Linked DNA regions of Homo sapiens: regions 2 and 3 are each linked to region 1. Evidence: promoter capture Hi-C in human tissues and cell types (Jung and others, 2019). All regions are on one chromosome and are shown on one strand. The core of a region is centred on a gene start or on the middle of the fragment in contact, and the rest is flanking DNA. Distances in the headings are between cores, read along the strand shown.

What was found. The method cuts DNA at HindIII sites, captures the fragments that hold promoters and counts their contacts. A contact is called where the count stands out against the background at its distance.
Region 2: a contact is called between a fragment that was not itself captured here and the fragment with the promoter of ITGA11 in region 1, in 1 of the 25 tissues and cell types used here (mesenchymal stem cells).
Region 3: a contact is called between a fragment that was not itself captured here and the fragment with the promoter of ITGA11 in region 1, in 3 of the 25 tissues and cell types used here (mesenchymal stem cells, spleen and thymus).

What each region holds. Positions count from the first base shown.
Region 1 is chr15:68,430,356-68,435,046 of GRCh38, forward strand. It overlaps ITGA11 (integrin subunit alpha 11), which reads right to left and starts at 1,808. Exons shown (of 30, transcript NM_001004439.2): 1 at 1,660-1,808. The coding sequence starts at 1,711. RefSeq lists an enhancer at 209-968 and a silencer at 3,515-3,809. The HindIII fragment of the contact is 3,029 bases long and covers 1,261-4,289 here.
Region 2 is chr15:68,390,816-68,395,506 of GRCh38, forward strand. All of the region lies in intron 2 of ITGA11 (integrin subunit alpha 11), which reads right to left. Among named protein-coding and RNA genes, the nearest start is that of ITGA11, 39 kb to the right of the region's middle. The HindIII fragment of the contact is 5,663 bases long and covers 1-4,691 here.
Region 3 is chr15:68,465,630-68,470,320 of GRCh38, forward strand. No RefSeq gene overlaps it. Among named protein-coding and RNA genes, the nearest start is that of ITGA11, 36 kb to the left of the region's middle. The HindIII fragment of the contact is 5,881 bases long and covers 1-4,691 here.

The DNA.
Region 1 (4,691 bases), core at 558-3,057:
GGAATTTGTGTCTCCATTCTTCACATAAGGAAACCTGTTGGAAAGGTCGCATAACCAGTCCAAGATTGAACAGCTAGCAGGGTGCAGAGCCAGAAGTGGAAGCCAGGTCTGATTCCAAAGCCATTGCTCTTAGCTTCCTGAGGTCCAGGCTGTCCCTAGCCCCTAAGGCAGCCACTCCTTCCCAAGGTTCTGATGCAGCCACCTATCTGGAGTCACACAGGAGTGCGTCTCTTTTCTTGTGGCTGGATCTCCTAGTGATATGAGGACAGTTCCTGGAGAAGATTCTCCCCTCCTGTCTAAACACACCTAAATGGGCTTGGCCTCCTCCCGCAGCTGGCTTCTAGTTGCATATTGGCCTGGTGGCAGTTCTTCCCCTGCTCTCCCTTCCAAGCCCCCACAACTCAATGTATCAATGATTGTTTTAAACTGTGACTCTAGGATTCCACTAGCCAGAGGCCCTTTCAACCATGGGCCCTCTGAGAAGCTCCTCTGTAGGCCGACAGGAGGGTGGACTTGCTTCGCGTGGTACCCGGGGACTGGGGCAAGCGGCTGCGGGATAGGGGTCTCCACCTGAGCTCCCTGAGGGCACCTCTCCCACTACCACCGCATCTGACCCCCACTACTGGCCCCAGCTCGGGCCTGGAGCCCACGCAGAAGGGGAGGCAAGGTTGAGCGCCCACACCCGGCCAGTAACCGAGGCGCTGGCCCTTGCCGGAGCACTTGGCCGTCTTCCGCAGAACAGCATCACTGGCAGCCGCCCCGCGTGGAGGGTGGAGCCGGGGAGCCCGGTGTGGGACGGCCGGGGCCAGGGTACCCTAGGGCGGAGAGCTCAGGGCTGGCTTCCCGCTCCCAGCCGCGCGCCCCTCGGGCCGGAGGTTCCTGCCGCGCCCCGACACCTGGAGTGCATTAGGCGGCGGCGCGCGTCTAGGCGACGGCGGCTTTCCCCAGATTATTGAATAATTGCATAATTCCGAGCGCGGGTTGGGAGGCAATGCCGGGTCCCTACCCCGGGTGTCAGGTAACGTTTCGGGGGTCCTGCGCTGCGCGACTGTGTCCCGCCGCTGCTGGCCGGGCAGACGAGAGCTAGCCCCCGCCTACCGGCCATCGCCCCGGGGCTTTGCTCTGTCTTTGGCCGGAGGCACTCTGCGCAGCCCTCACCCCCACCCTTCAGCCCTCCGGGGCCGCCGCGCCCGGCTCTCCAAACTTTGAGATGCTTCCCCGGAGCCAGGCAGGAGGGCAGCCAGGGCACACTCTCTTGGCGCTGATTCCCTTCCCCAGCCGGGGCCGTGCGCCCTCGGCGCTCCCGGGACACCCGAGTGCCCCTGGCAGCCGTGCGGGAACCCCGGCATGGGCCTTGGAGGCACCTAAGGCGCCCAGGAGGGCCACCAGATCTGGGAGCTTTTCAACTCAAGCCTCTTCAACTCTTCCCAAACACACCAAAGAGTCCCGGCTTTCAATAGCCTTCGCACCTCCCTCTTTAGCGAAACTTGACTGAACCGCTAGACTGGGGCCAGTCCCTGGGGGACCCACGTCCCCAAGAGCAGCTGAGGTCTGACCCTGGGAGGAGGGTCGCGTCCCGATCCTGGCCGCTGGATCCAAGCCCCGAGGGCCCAGGGAGGGACTCCGAGAGGCAAGGGGAGGCAGAGGGTGGGCACCTACCTGGCCACAGGCTGAGCGCCCAGGCCACCACCAGGCCCCTGGGCAGGTCCATGGCCCGCGGCACGGCGGCTGGGTCCGGTGTGCAGCGGCGGCGGGGGGCGGCAAGCCAGAGCGGCAGCCTCCTCGGCGCGGCGCCTGCAGCCTGCACTGCGCGGGGCGCCGGGCTCCCTGACAGCTGCGGCTCATTCAGAGGAAGTGGGAGGGCTCGAGCGGAGGGGAGGGGCGCCGGACACCACTCCGGCTCGGGCTCTGGGCCAGTCTCGGCCGCTCTGCCACCTGGGCAGGCGGCGCGCTGCCTCGACGCGCCTGTGCAGCGCTCCTTCTCCGCCAACCCCACGTCAGCCTCTGGAGAAAACTCCAGAGAACCGCTCCTGGGAACCCCCTCACCAGTGTAGCACCGCACCGCCTCAGTCAGATTCTGTTCAGGAAAAGTGGTTTTTATTCCCATTTCCCAGTGAAAAGAGATTCACAAAACTCAGAGGGTACCCAAGCTGGCTCAGGAACACCTGCTGGAACGCAGGTCTCCCTTGGCCAAGTGAGTGGATGTCCCTCAAAGGTCCATTCTAAGACATCCCCGTGTCTCCCTGCACCCTGCGGCTTGAATTGTAGAGGCTAGTGTTTCTTCTGACCCTGGAATACATGCAGATTCGCCTCCACTGCCACTCCCTGAGCCTCCACACCTGAGGCATTCCAAAGCACCCAGGGACACCGTGCACCCCCTCTTAACCTAACGTGAAGCTCTTCTTTGTAACCCTGCCACCTTCTTTCCCTCTTCTAATCACTGGTAGTTAAATTCAATGCACATTTATCTCAAGAGCTTTAAATCCAGGCCCCGGACCTCCACCGCGCTTGTGGAGGCTTTTCCAGCAATGGAGGAAGCCGAGGCAGAGGGTAGGAAGGCCAAGATGCAGGGAAAGCCACAGCAGAGCGCCCTTCCCCCACTTTCTCAGGAAAGGCTTCCTTCACCCCCTCTTCCCGTCCCCACCAGGTTGAGTCCCAGACACATGCTGATATTCCCCAGCCCGCTCTCCCTCATTTCTCTTCATTGTGCTTAGTAGAGAAGCAAGGCATCAATTGGTGTGATCATTTAACTTTTCTCTCCTGTGCAGACTGAAAACACCATCAGGGTAGAAATCTCTGGTTCACAATGGAGTACTCAGCCCCTAACACCCAGGAACAAAGTAGGTGGGCGGGTGGATGGATGGGTGAGTACAGGTGGTGTGTGGGTGCACAAAGGATAGAGTTTTCTATCTGGGAGGTATTGGAAGGGCTTCCCAGAGGAGGTGATGTTCAGTCAGGGCCCCTGAAGATGAGCTGGAGTTTGAGAAGACCCAGGTTCACATAAGTGAAGTGGGCTTGTGCTCGTCTCCCAACCTCACTATCTTTCGGTTGGCTATCTGGGTTTTACTTCATCTTCACCTCACCCATTCAGCCACAGACTCGGGGAAGGTGATTCCGTCCCTGGTGTGTGTGTGTGTGTGTGTGTGTGTGTAAGGAGGCATGCGGTTCAGGCTGAAATGAATCAGTATGTTGCCCTTCCCAGCCCATCGTTTCAGAAAGGGCAATATGACAAAAGAAAAAGTTTTTTTGGGAAGCAAGCTTTCTTGCCTTTCTAAAAGAGCCCCTAGAACAAACAAACAAATGAACTAACTCTCTCTCCTCACCTCTCCCACTCCTGCCTCCTCTCCCAGCCTGGGACAAGGAACTTTGTAGGCTCAGAAGTTGACAGGGTCAGGGTAGGGAAGGAGGATCTGGCCTTGAGATGAGGTGGACACTGGATGACAGAATGGAGGATCTTGTTGAACTCCTGAATGAAGCCACCCCTTAACCCCACTCCCCTTGGGACTTATCAGTTATACGACAGTGAGTCCTCTTCACTGAGTTGAGTTTAAGCCAGCTGAGTTGAATGTAGAACACCCCTACAGCTAGGGAATGGGCTGCAGCCCACATTCCTGCCTTGCACAAATCTCCAGGTGCATCAGAACGACCTGGAGCACGTGCAAAGAATGCAAATTCCCCAAGGATCAGGGCATGCTGGTGGGTGCCCCAGGCACCTCTGACGTGTGGGTGGTCTGCAGCTTGTGCTCAGAGTCTGCATGCTGCTTGCTGAAGGGGCGCACTGTAGTGGCTGTCCTAGCTGCGCTGCTGCTGGTCTCGCTGGTAACAATTCTACCATTCATTCACCTTCACCGTCCTCACAGGTGCCTGGGGAATGGGGGTCCTGAGGATCACTCTGTGTGCTTTTGTGTAATGTGGGAGGGTGAGGGGAGAGGTGTGCCCTCATTTGTTCTTTCAACAGATCCTACAGAGTGCCTACTGTGCCCCTGTGCTCTGTAGGACACACGGAAGGAGAACCCCACACTAGGGCAGCTGGTGATGGAGCTGAGGAGACAAGACATAACCATGTATTTATTTAATCATAATCTGTTATTTATTAATCTATTTAAAACCATTTATTATTTCATCACTATTAAACATTATTTAAATCACACCCAAGGCAGCAGCATATGAGTGACAAGTGCACAATCCAGACTCTAAGGCTGGAGAACTGCAGAGAATTTGGTGAAGGGCTTTATGAAAGCTGTGATTTCTGTTGAATAATAATAATAACTCTTTACATGTACACAGTGTTTTAACTGATTTATTTATTCACATGCCATAAACTGTGCCATAGAATCCAGTAGTTGTTAGTATATTCACAAGATTGTAAAATCATCCTCACTAATTTCACAATATTTTTATCACCCCAAAAAGAAGCCCTGTAACCATGAGCAGTCACTCCCCATTCCTTCCCACCAGTCCCTGGCAACCACAAATCTATTTCTATGGATTTGCCTATTCTGGACGTTGCATATAAATGAAATCATATAATACGTGACCTTTTGAGTCTGGCTTCTTTCCCTTAGCATGATGTTTCCAAGGTTCATCCATGTTGCAACATGTATCAGTATTTCATTCCTTTTTATTGCCAAGTAACATTCCATTGTATGGATCTACCCCCTTTTGTTTATCCATTCATCAGGTGAGGCTTA
Region 2 (4,691 bases), core at 745-3,244, 39 kb before region 1:
TTCGGGAAGGTTGGCAGAGGTTCTCCCAAGGTTCTTCTTCCACGTGGCAGAGGCTTCGCACTTCAAACCTTTGCTCCTGTCCTTCCTTTGAGGTTCACCCTGGCACAGAGCTGAATCAATACATCCCACTGGGGTCATGCTTAATAGTCAGCCAATGTCTCCTAAATGACACTGGCATCAACCTCTCCTTTCTAGGATCAACACCCATAGGGTCCTAGGTCTGAATCAAATTCTTGGAATGCTGCCCATACGACAGAGAAGATGGGGCCAGAAGAGGAAGCAGGGAGGGGAAAGCCAAGTAGGATTTGTGGTGGGATCCACACAAGTGGGAACAGAGATTCTAGAAAGGCCCAGTGTGCTCCTGTCCATTCTGGAGGGGGCTCAGCTCTCGGGGTCCCCAAGGCCACCCTCTCTGTTTCTCTCAGCTCGGCTGTGGCAGTAACATGCTCAGGTCCAGTGGCTGCAATGGGTGGGACCCTGCCCACCTGGGGCACCATTTCTCTCCCACAATGCTCCAGGCTGCACTCAGATAAGCAAAAGCTACCAGGAGTTGGTTCTGTCATATCTTTCTGCTCTTCTATGCCCAACCTCCAAGATCATGTTCAACTGCCCTCTTCCATGGAGCATTTCCAGAGACCCCAGGCACAGTGATTTCTCCTTTCAGAGTCTGGCTGGGTTTCTGCTGTGAAGATGATGCTGTGTTGGCTGCTCTTGGGCTGCAGGGAGATGAAGCTGGTGTCCAACAGGGGAGATGGGCCATGGGCCTCAGTGACTCCAACAAAAAGTGGGAAGTGATATGTGTTATCACAGAAAAGGCTTGGGGAGGGTAAGGTCATTTTAGGCTAGGAAAAGGATTCAGAAAGCCTTCATGGAGAAAGTAGCCTCAAAGATGCATGTAATTAATACCAGGTCATATTTGACTTGCATTGGTTTTAAATTATTTCAAGGGTATTAATGTTGCCTCCCTAACTGGTCTGTGACTTATTTGAGAGTGAAACCACGTTTTACTCATACCAATATTTTGCCGAGTCTAGTAAAATTCATTAACAGATGCCTAATAAACAAATATTGGTCAAAATAAATTCTGTCTTGGAAAAGTCAGTTCAACTTAATTTTTAACCTTTCATACCATGTAAACAATATGGATGTCATGCATCTTATGTCTGGGCTGGTTGAAAGAGGCTCAAATCCTTAATTCAGTCTGTCAAAGTAAGTTCTTTGAGCACCTACTAAACACCAGGAATTATACCGCTGATTTCAGGAAGTAAGATAATGATACAGGCAATTACTATTCAATTTGATAAGTGCTATGAAAAGAGAAACACAGAATTCTATGGGGGCAGCTTATGTAGTGATGGGAAGGGATAGTCAGAGAAAGTTTCTCAGAGGAAGTGATATCTAAGTTGATAAAAAGAATATGAAAGAGGGCTTTCAATTCTAGCCATAAACAACTATGTAAACAGCACAAAATATCTAAAACAACTATTTTCAGGCACTGGACAGCAATCAAGGCAGAGCTCAATACTTGTAAGAAGGGAAATACAGAAGCTGAAACCCTGTTCACCCCAGCTTTTCCTCTGAGGGCATTTTCTTTGCTGAAGCACAGGGAAATGGATGCAGAGAGTAGAAGTCTTGCTGGATGGAGGAAATAGGGATTGGAGTTGGGGCTGCAAAGATGACTAGGATTTGGGAAGGGCAGCATACCAGAAAGGAGAGAACAACAGGAAAAGAGTCTCAAAAGCTCTGTTGAAAGTTTCCCTCAGGTTCTTGGCTGACTCCTAAGCTGTGTATGCATAGTATGATACACTGGAAAATCTATCAGAAAACAGCCAATGGGAGCAGAGATTTTAGAGGTTGCCTCCTATTCTGGGAGGAAGGTGTTGGGGTTCATACCCAGTCAGAAAGGAGAGACCTTAATGAATACTCTGGGATTTCATTTGAGACCCCAGAAAATCTATGCTCTAAGAGTAAAGACCACATCCTAGGAATAAGGGCAAAACTGTAACATCCACAATATTCACAATATTTACAAAATGAGTAAATAATCAGGAAAAAATGGATAACCATGAGATAAAATAGTCACCAGAAGCAGACCAGAGATGATCCAGATATTGGAGTTAACCAGCCAGGACTTCAAAATAATTATAATTAATGTGTTAAAGAAAATAGAACAAAAGATGGACAATTGGGATCAAGACAGATTATTGTGACAGAATTAGAATCTATAAAAAAAGAATCCAGTGGACATTCAGGAGCAAAATAAAATATCTGTAATAAAGAGTATATCGAATGGGTTTAGCTGCACAATGGATACAGCAGAAAGCTGGATTAGTGACCCTGAAGACAGATGAATAGAGGATATCTAAATTGTAGCACAGCAAGAGAAAAATGGAATAAAAAACTGAACAGAAATATGAGAAATATGGCGAGAAGGCCTAACATACACACAATTCAAGTTTAGAAAGAAAAGGAGAGAAGAAATGGGACAAAAGCTATATTTTTAAAAATGAAGGTAGAGAATTTTCCAAATCTAATTAAAAGTATCAATGCAGATTCAAGAAGCTTTGGAAACCCTATGCAGAACAAATACAACAAAACTACATTTAGATACATCATAGTCAAACTGCTGACATTAAAGGCAAATAAGAAAGCAACCACAAGAAAATGACATATTACATTCAAAAGAATGATAAAACTGATGGTTGACATCTCAACAGAAACTGTAAAGCCAATAGACAATGGAATGACATTTTAAAGTGCTAAAAGAAAAACTAGATAAGAAATACTTCAAAAATTAAGGTGAGATTAAGATCTTTTCAGACAAACGAACAAAAACAAACAGAAAACCCAACTCCCAAGGCTGAAAGAACTCTTGTTAGCAGACTTATACCACAAGAAATACTAAGTAGAGTTCTTTGGCTGAAAGAAAATTATCTCAAATGAGAGCACAGAATTATATAAAAGAGACGAAGAACACCAGAAAGGGTAGCTATGTGGATAAGTAGACATAAATATTAACAACTTAAAGCAACAATAACAATAATGTCTTGTGGAATTTATAACATGTGCAAAGGTAAAATATATGACAAAAATAACACAAAGGACAGGACAGGGGACTGGAATCAAACTGTCGTAAAGTTATTGTGTTACTTAGAAAGTGGTAAAATACTAATTGCAAATAGATTGTAAAGCTGTGTTAGAAATGAAAATGGAGATATTACGACTGACACCACAGTGGTATAAGAGACCATTCAAGACTACTATGAACATCTATGCAAACAAACTAGAAAATCTAGAGGAAACACATAAATTCTTGGAAGCATACAACCATCCTAGCTTGAATCAGTAAGAAACAGTAATTTTGAACAGACCAATAACAAGCAGTGAGATTGAATCAGTAATTTAAAATATTGCCAACAAACAACTAAGATTTTAAATTATACAGCAGCTCTCTTGACCACCATGGAATTGAATTAGAAATATAATAGAAAGACAACTAGAAAATCTCCAAATATTTGGAAATTAAAAAACACATTTCTAAATAACCCACGGTCCAAGGAAGAAATCATGATGAGAATTAGAAATTATTTTAACCTGAATGATAATGAAAACATCAAAATTTGTAGGATGCAGCTAAAGCAATGTTAGAGGAAATATATAGCCTTATATGTATATTTTAGAAAAGAAAAAGGGTCAGAAAATCAACAATTTAAGTAAGAAGCTAGAAAAAGATAAATTAAATAAAAAAATGGAAGAAATAATTAAAATGAGAATAGAAACCAATGAATGAGAAATCAGGGATTCAATAGAGAAAATCAGTAAAGCCCATAGTTGATCCTAGAACACATTAATAAAATTAATATGCCCATAGCAAGACTGATAAAAAATAAGAGGGACAACACAAATTACCAAAAAGAGAAATGAAAAAGAGGATATATAGATCTTATAGACATTGAAAAGATAATAGGAGGCTAATATGAATATTTGTGGATAAAATTTGAATGAAATGTACAAATTACTTGAAAAACCCAAGTTACTAAAATTAACACAAGAAGGAGTAGCAAATCTGAATAATCCATTATCTTTAAGAAGTTGAGATCCATTCCAAGATGGCCGAATAGGAACAGCTCCAGTCTGCAGCTCCCAGCATGATCGATGCAGAAGACGGGTGATTTCTGCATATCCAACTGAGCCTCCACTGGTGATATCCAGGCAAACAGGGTCTGGAGTGGACCTCCTGCAAACTCCAACAGACCTGCAGCTGAGGGACCCAACTATTAGAAGGAAAACTAACAAACAGAAAGGAATAGCATCCACATCAACAAAAAGGACATCTACACCAAAACCCCATCTGTAGGTCACCAACATCAAAGACCAAAGGTAGATAAAACCTCAAAGATGGGGAGAAACCAGAGCAGAAAAGCTGAAAACTCTAAAAGTCAGAGCACTTTTGTCCTCCAAAGGATCGCAGATCCTCACCAGCAATGGAACAAAGCTGGATGGAGAATGACTTTGACGAGTTGACAGAAGTAGGCTTCAGAAGGTTGGCAATAACAAACTTCTCCGAGCTAAAGGAGCATGTTCAAACCCATCATAAGGAAGCTAAAAGCCTTGAAAAAAGGTTAGATGAGAGGCTAACTAGAATAAACAGTGTAGAGAAGACTTTAAATGACCTGATGGAGCTGAAAACC
Region 3 (4,691 bases), core at 1,116-3,615, 36 kb after region 1:
ACCCCACCAGTCTTCAGCCAGTTCTCCAGGGCCACACTCCCTCCCATTGCAAGGCCCTTGTTCATGTTATTCTCTCTGCCCAGAGCACTCTTCCCCATCTGCTACCTGAACAACACCTGCTCAAACTCAGAACTTGGTCTCTGGGTCTCCAAGCCCAGTTCAGTCCCAGGCCTTCAGGCTCTGTCCCCCTCATAGCACCAAAAAACTCCTTATCACAGCAGAGTCATGGTGCAATTGCATGTTTGTCTGTGTGGTTATCTGATTGTCTGTCTCCTCCATAAGAGCAGGGAGCTTGTCTGCTTTTTCCCATTCCTATATACCCAGTACCTAGTACCCTGTGTGGCCTGGAACAAGTGTTCAATTAAGATATGTAGTGTGGGAGAAGGAAATGCTGAATCTGCCTGGTGCCAAACTCCTGCGGTCCAAGAGCTCCCAACAGAGGTCACATGATGTACCCAGAGGAAGACACAGCAGAGTTGAGAGCTGTGGTTGGTTCAGTCCCGTTGCAAGTATGCAAAAGACATGTGTGTGCATCCTCAGGAAGTGTGTGTGCTTATGTGTGTTCACATCCAGTGTATGTATGTGTAGGCATCATCCATGGCCTAAACTCCTGGCAGGCCCAAATCTCTCTACTACATACCTGACAGAGGCTCACCAGCCTTTCACTGGACATTTTCCAGCGACCAGGGAAGCTTCTTCATAGGTAGTATTTTAAAATATAGGCCCTGAGGTCAAATGGGCCTGGGCTGAAATCCCAGCTTCAGCACTGAGCATACTGTTTAAATATTTGGGGCCCCAGCCAGGCACGATGGCTCACACCTGTAATCCCAGCACTTTAGGAGACTGAGGTGGGAGGATCACTTGAGCCAACGAGACTGAGACCAGCCTGGGTAACATAACCTGGGTAACACACGGGTGTGTGTGTGTGTGTGTGTGTGTGTGTGTGTGTGTGTGTGTGTATTTATTTATATTTGAAGCTTCAGCTTTCATTCTTGAAAAAGGGGGATGATGATTTCTACCTTAGAGGATGATAGTGAAAACTAAATGTAATACTGCATTTAATGTACTTAGCACCATGTGTGGCATGCAATAAGAGCTCAATTGCTAGTGGCTATTAGCATTGCTAAAACTAATATTTGGCTCTTCTTCTAGGAGCAGTCTTTGGTTTTTTTCTCGGGTCCAACTTAATCAGCAATCAAGACTACCGTGTCCCTCAAAAGCCCAAAACATTTGTGAAAACCCTAAAGCTTAATGAAGATTTTGAGGTGAGATGAAAGCCAGGTAGTAATGTCATATACAACATAACAGTAGAGGTCCCCAGACATCTTTCTTATCCTGTTTGCTCTCCCCAAGTTTCTCCTACCTTGATACCTCAGTGATACACTTCCCCCACCCTTCCCCCATACAGCTCTTTACTACTCTGTCTGGCAGTTCAGCTCCAGCCCAAACTTGCATTCACCACTAAGGAAAAATGCCACAATTTTCCAGATCTCCCTTCCAGCAGTTATTTAACAATGGTAATCACATTTTGTTATGGAAGATTTCTTTTTGGGCATTTATTCCATTCTTAAGCCCAACTGCTGGTCATTGTTCCCCTTTCTAGCCCTGTGAATGCTATCTCAAAGAAGAAATGATGGTAAATATAATATTCTCCAACCTTCAAGTAAATCCTTTAACCCAATATATTGCAAGGTGAGTCTGTGATAAAATTCTTTCTTATGCGGAGCTGAAATCTGTTTCCCTGTAACTCATACCCCATGCGTAAATGCCCATGAAGTCCATATTCTCCTTCACAAAACAAATCCTTAAAAACTCACATCCATTTCCTTTAGAAAACTTTCTTCAGTTTATTCTGGGATTCATTCTTGGCTGTGTGTCTGCCTGTCCTTTCAGCTTTCATAATGTCCTTTTTTCAGCTGTGGCTCCTGAGAAAACCTGATGCTTGGTTTATCAACCAACTCCCCTTAGCCTCCTTCATGACAGGTCGTATCTTTGCTGAATTTTCATTTGCTCTTATAAACTCTAAGATATAGTATTTCAAATTGAGATGGGAGATTGCCAGTCGCTTCTAAATTGGATAGAGAGATTATTAAAATGCAGATTCTGGGCTTCATCCCAGATCTAGGAAAGCCAAGCCTCTGGGTACAGAGCACAGGAGTAAACAAACTCTCCAGGAATTATGATGCCCAGTCAAAACTGCAAACCAGAACTCTAAGGAAACCACAGATGTACCTGGTAAAATGGGGACTCCTTGCTCCTTGCACATTCTATTGCTCTTTCTCCCCAAGTGGATTTGGCTAAAGAAGGATGAAATTATTGATGGAGTTGGTCGTGAGAGGTGGTTTTTTTTGTTTGTTTGTTTTGTTTTTTTGGCTTTGGTGAGAAGTTGTTTAACAAGTAACAGAATGTTCCTTTCCTGGGGCTTTAGTAACGTTATTTCTGGAGCTACTGGGATTTCCAAAAATGCTCCAGAAGCTGATAAATTGAGCTAATTCCAAACCCGCTGGCCAGTTGCTCAACCATACTATGCATTTTTTGGTGTTCAATAATATTTACTGAGCACCTACTTTATGCCAGGAACTTGGGATACTTCAGTGAGCAAAACAGACATACATCCTGCCCTCATGGAGCTTCCTTGCTAGTAGAAAAGGAATAATCTCACAAGGGCAAAGAGGAAGAAAAGAGACAGCAGCAGACGAGTGATGTTCATTATTTTGGTGCAATAAGATGCAGTGAGGCCGGGCGCAGTGGCTCACACCTGTAACCCCAGCACTTTGGGAGGCTGAGGCTGGTGGATCACCTGACGTCAGGAGCTCGAGACCAGCCTGGCAAACATGGGGGAAACCCCATCTCTAGTAGAAATCGAAAAAAAAATTAGCCAGGCATGGCTATAATCCCAGCTACGCGGGAGGCTGAGGCAGGAGAATCGCTTGAAACCGGGAGGCAGAGGTTGCAGTGAGCCAAGATTGAGCCATGGTACTCCAGCCTGGGCGACAAGAGCAAGATTCCATCTAAAAAAAAAGAAAGATGCCGCCAGGCATGGTGGCTCACACCTGTAATCCCAGCACTTTGGGAGGCCAAGGCAGACAGATCACGAGGTTAGGAGTTCGAAACCACCCTGACCAACATGGTGAAACCCCGTCTCTAATAAAAATACAAAAATTAGCCGGGGGTGGTGGCGTGCGCCTGTAATCCCAGCTACTCAGGAGGCTGAGGCAGGAGAATTGCTTGAACCCGGGAGGCAGAGGTTGCAGTGAGCTGAGATTGTGCCACTGCACTCCAGCCTGGGAGACAGAGTGAGACACCATCTCAAAAAAATGAAACAAAACAAAAAAAACATACAATGAGATGCAGGGGTAAGGAATAACAGAGAGGGATGACCCATGAGGAGGTCATAAAGGAGAAATTCTAGGGTGGAGGAGGGATGGGGGGAGTGGAAGACTCTAAAGGTGATTAGGGACTATGCTGAGGAGAAGCTGCATCTTATGTGAGACTAGAGGAGGCCACCCCTGCAGTAGACTGGTGGCCTACACAGGCTGGTAGTAGCTGCAGCTTGGGTATGGGAATAAAGAGAGAGAAGTGAATGCCAAGGTGAGGACGGGGCACCTGTCCTCATTTAGGAAAGTGAGCTAAAAAGCTAGATTTCCAGGGAGACAGGATTTCTGTGTGGGTCCAGGTAACCTAGACAGCGCTGGGGAACCTCCAGGCAGATAATTTATAGGTCTGGGTATTCCTTATGGCATTCCAGGTCTACTGAACATGGTGCGTGGGTCCTTCTCTGGGCAACTGTGGTATAACAGAGTGGAGAACCTGGCTCCAGAGCTCACAGGAGGTACCAAGTGAAGCCTGGGTTCTGAACACCTTACGGGGAAAGAAGTGTCACACACATACTCACACAGGAGGACACACACACTCAGGTATATTCACACCCATAGTCACATACACACTCAAGTGCACAAGGTCACCCTCTTTCCTTGGTTGTGCTGAGATTCCTAAGGGTGGGTTGGAGGGAAGGCAGGGGACAAACACTGCTGGCAGGCTGGTTTGGGACATCTGAAGTATAGAAATGAAAGGAGGAAAGAATATTTGCAGCTTTCTGATATGTGAGCAGAGCTATGACAATCTCATTCCAGTCCAGCTCTCTACTTCTCCTAGTCTGCAATTGAACCTTTCACAGTGAATTAGTAATAATAGAATCAACAAAGGAAAGAGCTCTTCAAGTAGCACTGAATTGGCATTTAGTCCTCCTGAAAAGTGGAAAACACATTTTTGAGGCCAGATTTTTCATAGCCAGGAAGTCGTTTTAACCAAAGCAACAAGTCTAGTGACGTGTCATTTTTGACAATAAAATTTTGTATTTATTCTATTTCTGCAGTGTAATCTTTTCATCTTTGGATAAATATTTATCTTGTACTGGCTCTGTACCAGACCCTGTTCTGGATGCTAAGGATACGGTGGGGGTAAGGATGAGCCCAGCCCTCCTGGAGCTTACCCTTAGTGCAAGGTCAGGCGTGAGAGCAGAGAGGCTTTGCGTGCCCAGTAGGGCTGGGACCTTGTACTGAGCCCCTGTGGACTTTCTAGTTGTGCGGCCTCCCAGGTGATACTCCAGGAGACGCTACTGCGCCTGGCATCTGTCATCATTTGCAGAGAACGAGCCTGTAGCTGTGTGGGACTCAGGGAGGCCTCAGGAC